3 separate regions of the Homo sapiens genome follow, and regions 2 and 3 are each linked to region 1. Evidence: promoter capture Hi-C in 16 types of primary human blood cells and fetal thymus (Javierre and others, 2016). All regions are on one chromosome and are shown on one strand. The core of a region is centred on a gene start or on the middle of the fragment in contact, and the rest is flanking DNA. Distances in the headings are between cores, read along the strand shown.

Evidence for each region. The method cuts DNA at HindIII sites, captures the fragments that hold promoters and counts their contacts. A CHiCAGO score of 5 or more calls a contact.
Region 2: a fragment that was not itself captured here is called in contact with the fragment with the promoter of GSPT2 in region 1 in 1 of 17 cell types (fetal thymus); the score reaches 5.9 in fetal thymus.
Region 3: a fragment that was not itself captured here is called in contact with the fragment with the promoter of GSPT2 in region 1 in 1 of 17 cell types (fetal thymus); the score reaches 8.7 in fetal thymus.

The regions. Positions count from the first base shown.
Region 1 is chrX:51,741,405-51,745,135 of GRCh38, forward strand. It overlaps GSPT2 (G1 to S phase transition 2), which reads left to right and starts at 2,038. Exons shown (of 1, transcript NM_018094.5): 1 at 2,038-3,731. The coding sequence starts at 2,223. The HindIII fragment of the contact is 6,668 bases long and covers 1,397-3,731 here.
Region 2 is chrX:51,855,261-51,858,991 of GRCh38, forward strand. It overlaps a transcript of MAGED1 not described here and the pseudogene LOC100631242. Among named protein-coding and RNA genes, the nearest start is that of MAGED1, 36 kb to the right of the region's middle. The HindIII fragment of the contact is 536 bases long and covers 1,500-2,035 here.
Region 3 is chrX:51,823,979-51,827,709 of GRCh38, forward strand. It overlaps a transcript of MAGED1 not described here. Among named protein-coding and RNA genes, the nearest start is that of MAGED1, 68 kb to the right of the region's middle. The HindIII fragment of the contact is 909 bases long and covers 1,120-2,028 here.

The DNA.
Region 1 (3,731 bases), core at 788-3,287:
TCACTAAGTAGCAGTCATACCAATATGTTCATGACCAATGCATTCGACCCAGGTGAAGGAAAAATCCCAGATGTCTCCTGCTTCCTTGCATGAATTACCTTATGTGAACACGGCTGCCAAAACCTTGACAGGTTCTCCCAGAAATGTCCATTCTAGGTTCACACAATGTCCAAGAAGGCTCCAGCACTTGTGTGGAGGGTCTCTCTGCACATTCTACCTCTCAGTTCTTCCTGTTTATTGTGAATAGGTGTGCACATTCTCTTTATGTCACTGTAAATAATTAATCCATAACCGGAGGCAAAAAGAATGAAGGTGTGGAAACAGTACAGAGCTAGTATAATAGTGGCAGCCCCAGAGTGAAAACATCAAGGGTCCAAGTCTGTCTTTTTTCCTACCCCTAAAGTCTGGAGAACACAATTCTCAAGTTATAATCAGGTACTTGGTTTTATAATATTTTGCTTTGTTGTTGGATTTAAATATCCAACTATGAGGCCAGGCGTGGTGGCTCATGCCTGTAATCCCAGCACTTTGGGAGGCCGAGGCAGGTGGATCACCTGAGGTCAGGAGTTCAAGACCAGTCTGGCCAACATGGTGAAACCCTGTCTCTACTAAAAATATATATTAAGAAAAATTAGCTGAGCTTGGTGGCGGACGCCTGTAATCCCAGCTACTCAGGAAGCTGAGGCAGGAGAATTGCTTGAACCCAGGAGGCAGAAGTTGCAGTGAGCTGAGATCATGCCACTGCACTCCAGCCTGGGCAACAAAAGTGAAACTTTGTCTCAAAATAAAAAAATAAATCCATCTATGTGACACCATCTTGTACTAAGCAGATTGTTTGGACTGAATAGTCTTTCTAGGTATGTCACAAAACCTGAATTCATAAAAGCAAAAGGTGACAGATTTGAGTACATGAAGACTAAAAACAGATTCAGAGAATAAGTTTGTATTTTCTATGTCAGTTTGCACTAAATTAATTTACAAACAAGGTCGCTGAGGCTTTGACTCAACTGTTAACACTTTCTGAGAGTGAGATTCTTTTGATTAGGGTCTTAAGGTCTTTGTTCATCTCAGAAGTCTTAATTGGTTTAATTAGGCTGACACCTACAGCCCTGTCTCATTACCATAAACTGTAGAGGGGTTCAACATGACACTGATTGTTTCTTAGAGCAAAGCCAGTGCAGTGAGTAGGATTCCAGGCCCCCCGGAATGAAGCAGGAAAACCCGAGGCCTGTGGATGCAGGATGTACTAGGGAGGTGCTGGGGAGTAGTGCAGATAAACCCAGAATTCAGTTGGTTGGTAAAACAAGAGTGATCTGAGTCCTGTGCTTGTCTACGTGATCCACCATTGAATGGCAGGCCAGCCATTGTGCAGGCATCTGCATATGAAGTGACTGGAAGCTTCACTGGAACAAGGATCTCCTTGGAAATTCTCTCCCCTCAGACAGCCAGGGTGCTTAACATGAAAAGAAGTTGTAACCCTATCCTTAAACTATAGAAGCCATCAGCAGAAGTTACAGGCTTATGGGGGCCCACTGGAAAGGGAAAATCAAAAGGCCTGTGGATTTCAAATTAATGAGTGATCTTAAGTTGCATTTCCTAAGTTCGGCTACAGACTCATATATTTCATGAGTCCCTCCCTACCCATTCCTTGCCTCTCCCTTCAGTTGCTGGGTTTCTGAATTTCTGTATAGTTAACCCTTATCTTGCCTCCCATTTGTTCAATAGAAATGATCACTTTTACTTGAATCTTTTGGTAGAATTGTATACCATGTGTTCCTGTCTAGGTTTAATCATCAGATTGTGGTCAAATTGCTCTGCCAGACTGTGTGAACAAAAAAGTGAATGGAAATTTTCGTTTTAAAAAATAATACTTTTGGACTTAGCCCGTGGCTAAGAAGAAGTAAGGAAGCCAAGCGTACGGATAGCAGCGAGGGGTCAATCCACGCCCGGCGTTGGGTCGGGGGTGGAGGAGTCGGAAGTGGTTGGGGTTTGGGGGAGGAGATCCGCTCACACACAAGAGGAGAGTGTTGAGCCGCCATATCTGCTGCTGCCGCCGCAGTTGCGAATGCAGCATCGGCGCTTAGCTGCCTCCGCGGTGCAGCTAAGGTTCGTGTCGCTACCCCTTGGCCCTTCGCTCTTGCTGCCTTAACCCCGCCGGCGGAGCCCGCTCTTCTGGCCTGTTGAGCCCGCTCCCTCACTGCCACACAGCAAGTTCCGAGACCATGGATTCGGGCAGCAGCAGCAGCGACTCGGCGCCCGATTGCTGGGACCAGGTGGACATGGAATCCCCGGGGTCGGCCCCGAGCGGGGATGGAGTCTCCTCTGCGGTGGCCGAGGCCCAGCGCGAGCCCCTCAGCTCGGCTTTCAGCCGTAAGCTCAACGTCAACGCCAAGCCCTTCGTGCCTAACGTACACGCCGCGGAGTTCGTGCCGTCCTTCCTGCGGGGCCCGACTCAGCCGCCCACCCTCCCGGCCGGCTCCGGCAGCAACGATGAAACCTGCACCGGCGCGGGATACCCTCAAGGTAAAAGGATGGGACGGGGGGCACCTGTGGAACCTTCCCGAGAGGAACCGTTAGTGTCGCTTGAAGGTTCCAATTCAGCCGTTACCATGGAACTTTCAGAACCTGTTGTAGAAAATGGAGAGGTGGAAATGGCCCTAGAAGAATCATGGGAGCACAGTAAAGAAGTAAGTGAAGCCGAGCCTGGGGGTGGTTCCTCGGGAGATTCAGGGCCCCCAGAAGAAAGTGGCCAGGAAATGATGGAGGAAAAAGAGGAAATAAGAAAATCCAAATCTGTGATCGTACCCTCAGGTGCACCTAAGAAAGAACACGTAAATGTAGTATTCATTGGCCATGTAGACGCTGGCAAGTCAACCATCGGAGGACAGATAATGTTTTTGACTGGAATGGTTGACAAAAGAACACTGGAGAAATATGAAAGAGAAGCTAAGGAAAAAAACAGAGAAACCTGGTATTTGTCCTGGGCCTTAGATACAAATCAGGAGGAACGAGACAAGGGTAAAACAGTCGAAGTGGGTCGTGCCTATTTTGAAACAGAAAGGAAACATTTCACAATTTTAGATGCCCCTGGCCACAAGAGTTTTGTCCCAAATATGATTGGTGGTGCTTCTCAAGCTGATTTGGCTGTGCTGGTCATCTCTGCCAGGAAAGGAGAGTTTGAAACTGGATTTGAAAAAGGTGGACAGACAAGAGAACATGCGATGTTGGCAAAAACGGCAGGGGTAAAACATTTAATAGTGCTTATTAATAAGATGGATGATCCCACAGTAAATTGGAGCATCGAGAGATATGAAGAATGTAAAGAAAAACTGGTGCCCTTTTTGAAAAAAGTAGGCTTCAGTCCAAAAAAGGACATTCACTTTATGCCCTGCTCAGGACTGACCGGAGCAAATATTAAAGAGCAGTCAGATTTCTGCCCTTGGTACACTGGATTACCATTTATTCCGTATTTGGATAACTTGCCAAACTTCAACAGATCAATTGATGGACCAATAAGACTGCCAATTGTGGATAAGTACAAAGATATGGGCACTGTGGTCCTGGGAAAGCTGGAATCCGGGTCCATTTTTAAAGGCCAGCAGCTCGTGATGATGCCAAACAAGCACAATGTAGAAGTTCTTGGAATACTTTCTGATGATACTGAAACTGATTTTGTAGCCCCAGGTGAAAACCTCAAAATCAGACTGAAGGGAATTGAAGAAGAAGAGATT
Region 2 (3,731 bases), core at 518-3,017, 110 kb after region 1:
CATGCTCATTTTGAAGATTTTAGAGAACAACAAAACTTTATTAGGAAGGAAATAAAAGTGACCCACAGTTTTATTAACTAGAGATAAATACTATTCAGTAATTGATATATTTCTTTTCAGTATATACAGTTTTGTATCATTTGCTAGGACTGTGTACCACAGTCTGGGTGGCTTAAACAATAGAAATTTATTTTTTCCCAATTCTGGAGGCTAGACGTCTGAGATCAAGGTGCTGGCAGGGTTGGTTTCTTCTCAGGCCTCTCTCCTTGGCATGTAGATGGCCGTCTTCTCCTTCCTGTGTCCTCACATGGTTTTCCTTCTCTGTATATCTCTGTCTTTATCTCCTCTTCTTTTTATTTTATTTTTGCAATTCTCCTGCCTCAGTCTCCTGAGTAGCTGGGATTGCAGGTGCCCACCACCATGCCCGGCTAATTTTTGTGTTTTTAGTAGAGACGGGTTTTCACCATGTTGGCCAGGCTGGTCTCAAACTCCTGACCTCAAATGATCTGCCCGCCTCGGCCTCCCAAAGTGCTAGGATTACAGGCATGAGCCCCCGCACCGGGCTTATCTCCTCTTCTTATAAGGACACCAGGCATGTTGGATTAGAACTCTAATGATGTCATTTTAATTTAACTACCTAACTAGACACTAATGATGTCATTTTTAATTTAACTACCTTTTTAAAGATCTTGTCTCCAGTGTAGTCACGTTCTGAGGTACTAGGGGTTGGGACTTCACCGTATGAATTTTGAGGGGACACAGTTCAGCCCATAACACCTGCTTTCTTCTCTAAAAGTTATCTTTTAAGAATTCCCACTTGTCGATAACAATTCTTTGACAATAGTTCTGATGACTACATAATATCCCATCATTAAAATATACCACAATTTACTTAATCAATTTCATATTCTTGGACCTTTCAGGTGTTTTCATTTTTTCACTAATATAAATGCTTCCATAAGTAGTTTTGTACATGGATGTTTGGATATCTGACTATTTGTTTGGAATAGATTGCTTGAAGAGTGATTATTGGGTCAAAAGGTATGACTATTCTCTGGTTTTTAATTACATACTGCAAAATTGTTTTCCAGAAAATTGTACTAATTTACATTCATACCAGGAAGGAGAATAGTCAGTTAGGCATTCATATAAGCTGCTGGTGGGAATGAGAAAGGAAAAATAAACTCTCATGGTTGTTTCACTTTACATTAATTGATGACTAACAAAATGGAATATTTCATGTATTTATTAATCTGTTTGCATTTCCTTTTTTGTGAACTGTTACTCATGTTCTTTGCCCATTTATGTATGTGAGTCTATCATTTTAGGTGATAAGATTATGATTTAGAGTGAGTTCTACTCTAAAGAGGGAAATTTCAGAAAAAGTGAAATTCCAAAGAATGTTATGGATCCAGAATCCAAGGACTATTGGTCTGAGTCTCTTCTTTGGAGAAGACTTGGCATGTGATGACATATAGGTAAAGGAATGGCTGCAGGAAAGCTTGGCAGGGAAGAGTTGAATGTATTCCTTACGCAGGGAAATTTGTTACAGGCACAGTACTGCCACTTATACTACTGAAGAGAAAGGCTGTGAGTGAATTAACTGAGGAAAGGCAAGCTAGATGCATATTATATATGGGAATCTTCTAGGAAAAAAAGCACAGAGATATGATTCACATGACCATAACTCTTGCAAAGGTTTTAGAATTTGTGAGACACTGGGGAGGTTCTCATGGGGAAAAGTCTTATGTATGTGATTAATGTCAAAAAGCCCTTTGTCAGTGTTCAAGGGAGGTACCTCAGAGTACTCATGATAAAGAGAAACCCTATGAATGCTGTGAATGTAGTGAATATAAAGAAATTTTTAATCATGATGCCAGTCTTACTTACCATCTGAGGACTCACACCTGAGAATTCATTGATTTGTTATGGCCATAAGAATGTGGAAAGGCAGGACATGATTCTCTTTCAACACCAGAAATTTCATAGGGTAGAAAAACTTTCCCAATGCTGGACAAATTGCAGTGGGTGATGAAGCTTTTTGAATCATGCAAAAGTTTATACTGGACAGAATCCCTATGAGTGTACTGACTGTGGGAAAGGCCTCAAGACAAACTCAGACTGTTTTTTTTAACATGAGAGAATTCATAGTGGAGAACAACCCTATGCTCATAATGCATGTGGAAAGGCTTTCAGATCCAGCTCAGACTTTACTAAACATGAGAGAATTCATAGTGGAAAGTAACCTTATGCAATGATGAATGTGGGAAAGGGTATCTGGAGATAACAGACCTTCAAAAACATTAGAAAATTTATAGCGGAGATGGAAAGAGATCCTTTCAGTGTAATGAATATGGAAATGTTTTTAATCTAGAGCTCAAATTTTATTTGTCATCAAAGATAATCTTTTACAATGAATATACAAAAACCTCCAAACAGAAATCAATCCTTGTTCATCATCTGCAGATTCATAGTGGACAGACACTCTGTACCTGTAATGAATAAGCCTTCAATTAGAGGCTAAGTCTTATTCATTATCAGAGGATTCATAAAGGCATCACCTTCTATGTACGTAAAAAATTATGGGTATGCTTTCAGCAGGATATCAGCCTTATTTGATATTGGCAAGTCTATAGCGAGTTCGCTTAAATGCAGTGAGTGTGGAAAGGCCTTCAATCTGAAGTTTAATCTTACTCAGCATCAGAAAATACAGAGTGGCAGGAATCTTATTAATGTAATGTGTGTGGGAAAGTCTTTATGAGAAAATCACGTCTTGGTAAAAATGAAAAAAAGATTCTTTGTAAAAGTTAAAATAGTTACCACATAATTACACGCCTGCCAGTGTGCCAAGCACTACAAGAACTTTACATTGTTTAATCATTTTTTTACAATAATCATACAATGTAGAAATCCTCGTTGTTTTACACACACATGAAGAAACCAAAGAAATGAGGTGGAAAAACTTCCCCAAGATCACATACTAGTCACTGGAAGAGCCAGGGTTTGAGTCCTAGAGAGTTTAATTGTTCTGGGTTTATAGTGGCAATATGTAAATCTTCAAGGATGTGTTAGTCTTTATTCATTATTAAGAAATTCCTTCAGAAATCAGGATTCACTCTTCAGTGAGTATTGGGAGCCTTCAGTCAGTTTTGGAATTAGAGACTCTACATTGGGTTCTATCAAATTTAGTAAGGACTATAAAGACTTTATCATATTTATATTATCCCTTTGAATAGGGATTACTTCCAATCTTGAAAGATTTCATTAATAACAAAATTCTGTTCTCAAATGCTCACCCTAACCACTTTCTGTGGTGTAGACAACGTGGAGTGGGATGGAAAGCACAGGCTCTGGGATTGGCCAGGATAGCTTCACCATCAGGAACAAGGTAGAGTTACCCAGTTCTTAAAAAGATTGAGTAGGAATGGAGAGGACAGATGTGGTGAGAGCTTCAGGAACAGAGTCAGGTCATTCTAGGAATTATAACCAAACAAGCCAAAATAAAGTAGAATTCAGCCTATAAGGAAGTGGAGAAGCTAGGGTATGTGGCATGATTTTCTCCCCAGATGGATTTAGCTATAGGTTGCTTGTGTATCACCCAGTATTCAGAGGAACTTGAATTTGAAATTGCTTCAGGAATATGCAGTACTCTAGCACTGAGTCAAAAATAAGCGTGACTTTCAGAAACTCAAGGTATAAGAAATATTAATAAATTGATTTTCTACCTTCTC
Region 3 (3,731 bases), core at 324-2,823, 82 kb after region 1:
GATTTATAATTATTGTGGTAGTCATGTTTTAAGTCAGACTGGAAAACATAGGAATTGCAAATTTTAAAAAAGCAACAACTATATTTATACTGTTTTTAATATTTACCTATGTAGTTACCTTTACCAGTGTACTTTATTTCATCTTATGATTTCACGTTACTATCTAGTGTCCTTTCCTTTCAGACTGAAGGACTTCCTTTAGTATTGCTCATAGGGCATCTGCCAGCTACTTGATATCTCTTTCAGTTTTGTTTATCTGATAATGTCCCATTTTCTCCTTCACTTTTGAAGGATAGTTTTACTTCCTTTATTAGATATAGAATTCTTGATTGCAGTTTTTTTTCTTTCTGTAACTTGAATATGTCTTCCCACTGCTTTTTGGCCATGACTTCTGAGGAGAAGTCAACTGTTAAACTTCTGTTTTCTTGTTTGTGAAGAGTTGTTTTTCTCTTATTGCTCTTTGGGATTTTCTCCTTGTTTTTGGCTTTCAGTATTTTTATTATGATGTGCCTATGTGTATATACTTCTCATTTTTCCTACTTGGTGTTTGTTTGCTTTTTAGAATGTGTATGTAAACATTTTTTCATCAAATTTGTGATGCTTTCAGCTGTAATTTGTTCAAATATCTTCTTCCTCTTTTCTATTTTCTTCTCTGATTCCCATTATATGTATTTTGGTTGCTAGATGATTTCTTACAAGTTTCTGAGGCTGTGTTTATATTGTCTCTGTGTGTGTGTGTGTGTGTGTGTGTGTGTCTGTATATATATATATACACATACATATATACACGTATGTATATATACACATATATATACGTATATATACGTACATATATGTATATATACATATATATATATGCACAGACACACACAGTCTCAGAAACCTGTGTGTGTGTGTGTGTGTGTGTGTGTGTGTGTGTGTGTAAAATTTCTGTTCCTCAGACTGGATGATCTGAATTGGACTATCTTGCTGACTATTTTTTTCTATCAGTGTAAATCTGCTCTTGAGCCCCTCTAATGAATTTTTCGTATCTGTTACTTTATATTTGTAGGGGGCTTGAAGGATTTAGGGGCTTATCAAAGAAAGACATATGTCTATGAGGTGGCAGTATCACACACAAGCTTTATTGGGAGATGTGTTGACAGGCTTGCATGTTGGGGAAGTCTCTCACAGTAGGAGCCTGTCCAGAGGCCATGGCTTGGGAGTTGCTACTCTGAAGGGGAAGAGGCCATGGAATTTCCAGAGAGGGAGATTGTAGAGGGGACTTGACTTACATGTTTAGGTGATGGCTACTCAGCAGCACAGTGGGGAGTCTCTGGGTCAGAGAGAGCTCTAAAGGGCAACAATGTGTCAAAAGACAAAATTACAACAAATTTAGTTTAAAGATCTCACTTGGCCGTATTTGTGATTCTAGAATCAGGCAACACTATTCCACAAAATAGAATACTTGTTCAAATGAGCTGAGAGCAGAAGAGGTTGACTTCGTAGAGGAGAAGGGCTGAAGAAGCAAAGAACAAAGTGTATTTATTGTATGTGTAACCACTAAAGTATCTACTCAGTAGCTTAGCCATCATTGGATAAAGATTTCCTTAAATGCCTGGGACCAATAAATTGCATCATCTTTAACAAAGGGATCTGTATACATCTTGGGGCATGCAACACTTAGCCAGGCAGTTTACAACCGTACATTAGCCTTCACTTCCTGATTGCAAAGAGCCGAAAAGTCAGTTAGAAGTGAGAGTTTATGGCCTTCTCAGGTGTTTCCTGAGCATGCACACAGCCCTATACATGCAGATGGTCTTCTATATTCCCTAGAAAATATCAGAACTCTTCAAATCCCCTATTGATAGCTTATTCCTCAGCTTTTCCTTTCATTCTTTTTATTTAGTTTATTGTTTGCTCCAAGTGTTATCATTTGTGGAGGGGCTTTTAGTATGGGTTTTGCACTGAATCAAACATAAACCTTTTAAGTAGCGTCTTCTGGGGAACCAACAGACAGGACAAATAATGACAGTTCTTTAGAACTGAAGCTTTGGGAGTTGATGCCACTGCTAAACAGCTGAGCCAGCTAATGTAGTTCTTTGACAGCACAGAAATGTAGGGAGAAATGAGCAGCCCCTGGCTGAAATGCCGCAGACTCTCCTTGTTCTTACTTAGTTCTGTAGATTTTGTTGCCGTTGATCAATCCCCAGAGACTTTAGGTGATTGGCTTTGCTTGTTTTGACCAGTTTTATTAGATGTCTCTTTGGGGAGGAGATTTCACTGAGCTCCTCACATAGCCATTCCAGAATTCCCATAAGTTTGGTGTTGTATCTAAAACCTCATTGCTAAAGCCTAAGGTCATGCAAGTTTTCTGTTTTCTTCTAGAAGTTTTATAATTTTCTGTTTTATATTTAGATTCGTGATCCATTTTGAATTAATTTTCATGTGAAGTGTGAGGTTTGTGTCATAATTTTATTTTGCACATGGATTCCAGTTGTTTCAGCACCATTTTTTTTGGCAAAGATTGTCCTTCTCCATTGAATTACCTTTATGCTTATGTAAAAAAAAATCAGTTGACTAAATGAAATAAACTGATTAAAAAATAGGCAAAAGACCTGAACAAAGACACCTCACCAAAGAAAATATACAGATAATATATAAGCATGTGCAAAGATGCTCAACAGCATATGTTATTAGGAAATTGTAAGTTAAAAAAGATACCACTACACATTTATTAGAATGTTCCAAATCCAAAACACTAAGAACATCACATACTGGTGGAAAGATGAAGCGACAGGAGCTCTCATTCTTTCCTGGTGGGAATACAAAATGGTATAGCCACTTTGGAAAACAGTTTGACAGTTTCTTACAAAACTAAATGTAGTCTTACCATATGATCCAGCGATTGCGTTCCTTGATATTTACTCAAATGGGTTGAAAACTTATGTCTACACAAAACTCTGCACATAAATGTTTATAGTAGCTTTATTCCTAATTGCCAAAATGTAGAAACAATCAAGATGTCCTTTAGTAGGTGAATGGATAAATTGTAGTGCGTCCAGACGATGGAGTTTAGTGCCAAAAAAGGGCTATGAAAAGCCTTTTCAAGCCATGAAAAGATATGGTGGAATCATATGTGCATATTACTGAGTTTTAAAATAAGCCAGTCTGAAAAGGCTGCATATCCCAGCTACTCAGAGGCTGAGGTGGGAGGATGGCTTTAGCCTGGGAGGCAGAGGTTGCAGTGAGCTGAGATTGCACAGCACCCCAGCCTGGACAACAGAGCGAGTCCCTGTCTCAAAAAAACAAAGAAAAAAAAAAGAAAGAAAAGGCTACATACTGTATGATTCCAAGTATTTGACATTCTGGAAAAGGCAAAACTATGGAGACAGTAAAAAGATCAGTGGCTTCCAGGGTTTGGGGGTTGGGAATGGATGAATAGACGGAGCACATGGGATTTTTAGGGCAGTGAATCTACTCTGTATGGTACTATAATAGTGGATACATGTGTTTATACATTTGTGAAAACCTATAGAATGTACAACACTGAGAGTAAACCCCAATGTAAACTATGAACTTTAGGTGAGAACGATATGTCAATATAGGTCCATCAATTATAACAAATATACATACCCTTCTGGTGGGAGATTTTCATAGTGAGGGTGGTTGTGCATATACGGGAGCAGAGAGTATGTGAGGAATCTCTACCTTGGACTCAGTTTTTATGTGAACCTAAAGCTTATCTAAAA